Regions from separate parts of the Homo sapiens genome. Here region 1 is linked to region 2. Evidence: promoter capture Hi-C in human tissues and cell types (Jung and others, 2019). All regions are on one chromosome and are shown on one strand. The core of a region is centred on a gene start or on the middle of the fragment in contact, and the rest is flanking DNA. Distances in the headings are between cores, read along the strand shown. Region 1 has its middle 87 kb from the start of LINC03103. Region 2 holds the start of RHPN2 (rhophilin Rho GTPase binding protein 2).

The links. The method cuts DNA at HindIII sites, captures the fragments that hold promoters and counts their contacts. A contact is called where the count stands out against the background at its distance.
Region 1: a fragment that was not itself captured here is called in contact with the fragment with the promoter of RHPN2 in region 2 in 1 of the 25 tissues and cell types used here (psoas muscle).

The regions. Positions count from the first base shown.
Region 1 is chr19:31,672,945-31,677,035 of GRCh38, reverse strand. No RefSeq gene overlaps it. Among named protein-coding and RNA genes, the nearest start is that of LINC03103, 87 kb to the right of the region's middle. The HindIII fragment of the contact is 4,885 bases long and covers 250-4,091 here.
Region 2 is chr19:33,062,110-33,066,143 of GRCh38, reverse strand. RHPN2 (rhophilin Rho GTPase binding protein 2) reads left to right here and starts at 1,256. Exons shown (of 15, transcript NM_033103.5): 1 at 1,256-1,360. The coding sequence starts at 1,292. RefSeq lists enhancers at 222-721, 1,934-2,562 and silencers at 869-1,368, 1,429-1,648. The HindIII fragment of the contact is 19,604 bases long and covers 1-4,034 here.

The sequences.
Region 1 (4,091 bases), core at 1,443-3,942, 1.4 Mb after region 2:
GAGGCTTCAGTGAGTGAGCTATTATCACACTGCTGCACTCCAGCCTGGGCAACAGAGCTGGATCCTGTCTCAAAAAAAAAAAAAAAAAAAGAAGAAGAAGAAGAAAGAAAGAGAAAGAGAGAGAGAGAAAGAAAGAAACAAACAAACGAAGGAAGGAATGAAGGAAGGAAGGAAAGAAGGAAGGAAGGAAGAAAGAAAAAGAAAGGAAAGAGGGAAGGAGGGAAGAGAAAGAAAGAAAGAAAAAGAAAAAAGAAAGAAAGAAAGTTAGTTCTAGCTATGGATAATCCAAAATTAGGCCTCAGAAAGATGAACTTAGGCATTTGGAAGAATGCTTATAAATAAAGAAAAGTTTCTCACTTTCCAAACTTGAAAGAATTCTTAAGATAGAGGAGATGTACAGAGATGAATGAGTGTAACAAGAGAAAGAAAGGTGGATGGGGCTTGCAACAATGACACCAGACCTCCAGGAAACCAAGAATGAAGGGCAGAGGCAGCCTAACCTCCTCCGGCATGATTCTCACCCATAACTAATGACCAAGAGGCCCTCTAGTGTCCACCTGAGCAAAGGTCAAAGCTGTGCCATCCTGAGGAGAAACATTGATTGTCTTCCCACTAGATTCAAGAAGTTGGCATCCACTAAGGACTTTTCTTCCACTGCAGTTAGCTTTGCCCGTTGGCCACTCATAGGAGGGGTGCACTTCCAAATTCCAAATGAGGCTCTGTTAAGTGACATCTGACTCACTCTTTGTTATCAAACTCTCTTTTTTTTTTTTTTTTTTTTTTTGAGACAGTCTTTCTCTGTTGCCCAGACTGAAGTGCAGTGGTGCAATCTTGGCTCACTGCAACCTCTGCCTCCCGGGTTCAAGTGATTTTCCTGCCTCAGCCTCCCAAGTAGCTGGGATTACAGGCGCCCGCTGCCATGCCCAGCTGATTTTTGTATTTTTAATAGAGACAGGGTTTTGCCATGTGGGCCAGGTTTGTCTCAAACTCGTGACCTCAGGTGCTCCGCCCGCCTCGGCCTCCCAAAGTGCTGGGATTACACGCACGAGCCACTGCACCCAGCCCCAAACTTTCTCTTGATAATTTAGGAAACTTATAAATTCCTAGAAGGAAGGCAGGGCTCCGGACCCTGGATCATAGCTGTGAAGTGGAGAAGGCACACTGCAAAGGAGATCCGAAACTCTCACCTCCTTGCTAAACACCCTTCCGTGGCTTCCCAAACCCTGGGAATGGCCTCTGGGGCCCTGGATGGTCTGGCACCTGCTCATCCTCCTTCTCTGCCTTGCCCCTCTCTTCTCCTCTCTTCCTCTGCCCACCTCCACCCCCACAGTTGCCTATTTCACTCTCTCTGCATACCTTCAGGCTTTCCCTGCTCAGGACTCTGCCCTTTCACTGGAAGTTGCTGCTTCCCCCATCCTATTTGCCTTTGAGCTCAGGTCTAACATCACCTTTTCCAGGGAGCCTCCCCTATCACCCTGCGCAAAGTCAGATCCAAGTCCTTTAATTTATCTCTGTCTATAATTGGATTTTCATTAGTACGGCAATTTGATAAATGGGTACCTCCCCAACTAGGCTGAGCATTTTTGTGGTGAGCATTTTTGGTTGAGTCAGTTCCTGGAGAATGGCAGGATTTTATCTGATTGTACAGCATTGGGGGAAGACCCAATGAGCCAGTGCATGTAAAAACAATTTGCAAACTGTAAGTGCTAACCGACATGCAGGACTATTAGTGGCCTGACTATGCTATGAACCCAGGTGCAGAGGAGAAGCGAGTTGCGGTCAGATCTTGACAGCTCATTGTCAGCCCCTCCCCGGGACCCTTTCCTTCCACTATCTCGTATCAGTGAAGTCTGTTGTCCAGGGATATTAGGAATTCAGTCTTCAAACTCGCTTACCACGTTTCCCCGTGCAAGCTATTTTTGGTTAATTTTTTCTGCTTTGATGTTTTGTTTTACTGGGTGAGTCTGGCAAGCCACTATTGTGTGCAATGTGCTATATAAGGTTTTATTGGATCGCATTGTTTACGTCTGTCTGTGACAGGTACTAGCAGTACTAACCACCCTGTGATTTTCCAGCAGTGAAAATAATAGAGGAATTTCCTCCAGGTAAAATAATTAGTGGTTTAGACAAAAAAAAAAAAAAAGAATATTAGTCTTTTTTTAAGCATAAGTTTCAGTTTCTGGGGTTACAAAGACAGATTACACAGAATTTTATCGGTTTAACTATGAATTCATGTTTTCCCAGTTGCTCCGTGACAGTTCCACAGTTCAGATTTTGCCGTAGGTTGTGGTGTCTGGACTCACTGGGTCAGCCGCACTGCTGATGAGCCATTGTGTGAGCCATTGTGGTTTTTTTTTTTTTCTTTTTAAAGCAAATCTTGGCACACTTGGTTTTGCCTGTTTCAACAACCCCTTCCCTATGCGTGTAGCCTCAGCCGTAATTTGCTGCCCTGATCCTAGAACTCTTCTTATCTTCTTGTGTCCCCTGCCTCTTCTGAGGCCCCAGTGGCTCTCCCCTTGGGGTGGGGACACACAACAGAGAATGGAAAAACTGAAAGAAGCTTTGGAAATTTTGCCTGATCTAAATCTGGCAAGATTTAGCAAAAGGAAAAAAAAAAGCCAGATTAAAATGGAATTTTAGATAAACAACCAATACTTTTTGTTATATGTGTGCCCCATGAAATATTTGGACATACTTTATACTTATAAAAAATTGTTCATTGCTTATCTGAAGTTCAAGTTCATCCTATATTTGAGGCAGCAACGCCAGCCCAGCCCTCTCATGTTTAAAGGTGGGAGCATGTCTCCTCTGATTGCAGGACGTTTCTACACCCCATCAAATTCATGTTGAGTCTAATTTTGTGAGTTTCTGCTTCATTTTTTCTCTCTATGCCCATCCAGCATGCTTTTATGGGAGACAATGGAAGCCTGGAAAGGGATTCCCTCTATCTGTGTTTCTAAATACCTGATTTGGGGAATGAAACAGTGCCCTATAATTTGAACTCTGGCTAAGATTCTAAGTACCGCTGTCTTCCTACCTGCTCCCTCCCCACTGTGGAGGCCCTCTGGACAAAGTGTTCCTGTTCACCTGCTGCTTATTGTCCAACAATGCCTTCCTTTGTTCTCCTTGCCCTCTCGCTAACGCCCTATCCTTCTATTCTTCCTTTTCTCCCTCCTTCAGACTTATCAATGCCATCCACGGTAATTTTGGAGACGGAAATAGCAATGCATTGTCTTTCTTCTATTCTTGGGGGATTTGGGCATATGCATGCTGGGGGCACAGAATAGGATGCACATTGTCCCTAGAGCAGGGCTTTCCAAGTGAACTCACCATGGTCAACAGTGCAAGGAGACCCACCTAGATACTCCTAGGTCATTGGTGGGTTTGATGGAAATCTCAGTTGAGGAATATTTCAGGAGGTGGAGAAGGGCAGATAGATGCCTTTTATACATACACACACACACACACACAACATACATATATACACACACCATATATACATATATATGCATATATACACACATATATACATATATACATATATGTGTGTGTATATACATATGTGTGTGTGTGTGTGTGTATATGTGTGTGTATATATATATATATATATATATATAGAGAGAGAGAGAGAGAGAGAGAGAGAGAGAGAGGCTTGTATAAAGCAAAATCACCCCAGCTCTGATTATGACCACGTTATTTCCTTATTGTAAATAGCTCAGGTCATTAAAGAAAAGACTCTTGTGATGGAGAAAACCTGGCAAAAAGCAACTAAGGTGATAAACCAATCCTTGGAAGGCCAGGTAGCCCTTCTTCTGAAAGACTGGCCAAGAGAGACCCCAAGGGTGCAATTAGAGAGAGATTTATGAAGTGACAGAGTGTGGGGACTTAGGGTTCTCTTTTCTGTGGGTCAAAAGGAGGAAGAAAAGGGAGAAAAAAATTTATATATATATAGAAAAAATTGGAGCCAAATGTTTTCACACCATTGCAATACGTATCTTGTGTTCTTTCCATGGAGCTCGGCGGCAGGTCAACAATAGGTGATGGCAAATTTTAATGGCTAAAAGATGGCCAGAGAGGTGGGATGCTGTCCC
Region 2 (4,034 bases), core at 7-2,506:
GCGAGACGAGTGAGGATCACTTAAGGTCGGGAGTTCGAGGCCAGCCTTGATATCATGGTGAGACCCCGCATCTATTTAAAAACAAAACAAAACAAAACAAAACAAAAGCTGTAATCCCAGCACTTTGGGAGGCAGGCCGAGGTGGGCAGATCACAAGGTCAGGAGTTCAAGACAAGCCTAGCCAACAAGGTGAAACTGTCTCTACTGAAGATTAGCTGGGTGTGGTGGTGGACGCCTGTAGTCTCAGCTACTCGGGAGGCTGAGGCAGGAGAATCGCTTGAACCCGGGAGGCGGAAGTTGCAGTGAGCCGAGATCGCGCCATTGCACTCCAGCCTGGGCGACAGGGCGAGACTCCGTCTCAAATAAAAAAATAAAAAAAATAAATAAAAAGGCCGGGCGCGTTGGCCCGCGCCTGCAGCCCCTGCTACTTGGGAGGCTGAGGCTGGAGCATCGCTTGATCCTGGGAGGTCGAGGCTGCAAAGAGTCGAGATCGCAACACTGCTCTCCAGCCTGGGCGACAGAGCGAGGTCCCATCTCTTAAAAAAAAGAACTGTGCTCAAGGACATCTGCCGTGTCTGGGGCGCAAAACCCCTCCTGGTCCCCTCTCTCAGGGCAGTCCGCGAGCCCAGCGGATCCCACTCGTCTTTGCAGCGCGGACAGGGAATCGGCTGAGTTGATCCCATGCCAACAAGCCCGAGTAGTCCGGGCAAGGCGCTCGGCGGGGCAGTCAACGCTCCCTCCGCCATGGGCTCCCCTCTTGGGAAAAGCTTTTCCAAACCGCCGGGCCCAGGGCCCAGAGCTCCCGCCGCGCCCTCGACGTGGCGTCGAGTCTGGCCCCTTCCCCCGCGGCGCACGGGCTTCACCCAGGAGGGACGCGCCTGGATCCACGCCTTCCTCACTGACTCCCCGGGCTCCAGGGCAGGGTGCAGGTCCACAGCCAGGGCTTCGCTGCGGCCCCTGAGACCCCAGTGCCTTTCCTGCGCTCTCGCGGCACTCGCAAAGTTGAGTCAGCCACGACGCCCACAGACAACCCCGAGGCGCCGCGCCCAGGGCGCAGCTCTCCGGGTGACGAGCGCCTCAAGGGGCGCGGGTTCGGGGCCCGCGACGGGGCGGGGCGCGTCTCCAGGGCTCCAGTGCTCGGCCTCAGGCGGGGCTAGAAGGGCCGCGGGACGGGGTGGGAGTGGAGGGGCGGGGAAGGGCGGGGACAGGGGCGGGGCCGCACGTCCTCTCGGGCCAGCCTCAGCCGCCGCGCCTCAGTCCGCCGTCCGCCCTCCGCGCCCGCGCCGCTAGCATGACCGACGCGCTGTTGCCCGCGGCCCCCCAGCCGCTGGAGAAGGAGAACGACGGCTACTTTCGGAAGGTGGGCGGCTTCGGGCGGGCGGGCGGGGACCTGCGGGCTCCAGACCTCCTTTCCCCCGGGCCCTGCAGGGGCCGTGGGAGCGCGCAGTCGGGGTCCACTAGGCCGGGAGGGGGAGGGGGCGCACTGGGCCGGCGCTGGCCGGACGGAGGCTGGCGGGGAGGAGTGGGGGCGGCGATGTCCCCGGCGTCCCGGGCAGGTGGCATCCGGGACTGGGCGGGGAGTAGGGGAGGCGCATGTGGCCGCTCCGCGCAGGTGCGGGCGGAGGACCTGGAGGGGTGCTTGGGTCTCCCCCCTCCCACCCCCCGCCACCCCTCGCTTGCGATCCCTGGTGCCTGGGGAAAGGACCCGTTCCTGGCTGCGCTGGCGCCCTTGGCCTCTGGGCGCGTTGCAAGAGCGCTTGGTGGGAGCGCGGGTGGAGACAGACCATCCCAGGCGTGTTGGCGGTCTCATATTTATTTTAGGCGCTCTGTCGCCCAGGCTGGAGTAGAGTGGCGCGATTATAGCTCACTGCAGCCTCGACTTCCTGGCCTCCAGCGATCCTCCCGCCCCAGCCTCCCGAGTAACTGGGACTGCAGGCGCGCCACCTCGCCACGCTAATTTTTTGTAGAACTGGGGTATCGCTGTGTTGCCCAGACTGGTCGCGAACTCTTGGGCTCAAGGGATCCTCCCGCCCCGGTCTCTCAAAGTGCTGGGATTACAGGCGTGAGCCACTGCGCCCGGCCGGCGGTCTCTTTTTGCCTCCAAAATGCTTCCAAAGTCCGCCTGTGGGACTTTTCAGGGAGCAGGGGAGAGCTGCTGGTGGGAGGGAGCCTCCGGCGTTGCACCCTCCTCCGCTCCGGGTCGTCCAGGAGGGCGTGAGCACCGCAGGTGAGGCCCACGGTCTTGTGCGTCTCACTGTGTGCCAAAGCGGATTTGTCTTGTTGTCCGGGAGACTTGGCGGGGGCTGGCGGCGGGCGGCGGGCGGCGGGCGGCGGGTGGCGGGTGCCGGCCTCGCAGGTTCTTGGCATGTCCAGGAGCTCTTGGGCCCAGAAGATAACAGTCAGGGAGCTCAGTCCCTCAAAAGCGACCCCAGCCTGTGGAGCAGGGGCCCTGGGATACCCGCAGGCGGCAGGGCCTGGGCTACAAAGATGCTTTGGAGCCGGGAGTCATGGTGATGCCTTCCAAGCCTTCCTCCCTCTAGGTCCTGAGCAAGTCTAAAAATAGCTTTTGGCCCTTGGCCAGGGATCACTGAGAGGGTGGAGAGATTGTTGTTGATTTTCGTTTTTATAATAGATACGACAGTGCATAATTATAAATAGGGAAGTGAAACTTTCCCATAAACGAATCAATTCTTAATTGTTCAAAGCCTTAGGATCCAGTTCTTAAATGGTCTTGGCATCTTCCTCCTTCTCCCAGGTGACACAGAGAGACTGTGGGCTTTGCTCACTGGTGAGGAGCCCTGGGCAGGACAGTGTGGGGCAGAGTGGGAAAACTTCTTTTTTGTGAAGTTGCTTTTAGCATTAAAAAAAAAAAAAGTAGTTTTGAGGTATATTTAAGTTTAAAGATGTCATCATGGAATTACAGGATTATAACTTCTAATTATGTGTGGCGTTTGGGACAGAGGATCACAGGCCATGGAATTGCAGGAGGAGGCCTGGCCTGGGAATTCCTATGTCTGTCCTCGGGCCCCGGGGCCTGACTGCCACTCCCACAAAATTGCTGTGTGGCCTCCCGCAAGTTGCTGCCTCTTTCTGGGACATTTCCTCCCCAGATTGTTCTCTGAGCAGGTGTAGCTCTGGAACTCCAGCAGCACCTGGGGGAAAATGGCAGCAAGAGAAGCACACCTGTGAGGGGTGGTCCCAAGCCTCCCAGAACACATTTTCCTGTGGGAGCCCTCCGTGTCTGTGAGCCCAGGGGAGGACTTCTTGCTCCGCACTGGGAAAGAGTGGATGGCAAGAGAGCTAGGAAAGGTGCACAGTTGGGTGTTTTTCATTTATTAATTATTATTATTATTATTATTATTATTATTATTATTATGAAACAGAGTCTCACTCTGTCGCTCAGGCTGGAGTGCAGTGGTGTGATTTCGGCTCACTGCAACCTCTGCCTCCGGGGTTCAAGCAGTTCTGCCTCAGCCTCCGAAGTAGCTGGGATTACAGGCGCCTGCCACCACACCTGGCTAATTTTTTGTATTTTTAGTAGAAACGGGGTTTCACCGTGTTGCCCAGGCTAGTCTTGAACTCCTGACCTTAAGTGATCCACCTGCCATGGCCTTCCAAAGTGCTGGGATTACAGGTGTAAGCCACTGCGCCCGGCTACAGGTGTTTTTTTTTTTTTCCCCCTGAGATGGAGTCTCGCTCTGTCACCCAGGCTGGAGTGCAGTGGCGCGATCTCGGCTCACTGCAACCTCCATCTACCAGTTTCAAGTGATTCTCCCGCCTCAGCCTTCCCAGTAGCTGAGACTACAGGCGCATATCAACCACGCCTGGCTAACTTTTGTATTTTTAGTAGAGGCAAGGTTTTGCCATGTTGGCCAGGCTGGTCTTGAACTCCTGACCTCAGGTGATCCACCCACCTCGGCCTCCTAAAGTGGGGTGTTTTTTAGATGCAGTTTCTCTGGTGTTGGATGAGAGAATCAGGGGTGCAAAATAAGAGGAATCATTGTTTTACAATTAAAATCATCAATTTTGAAAAT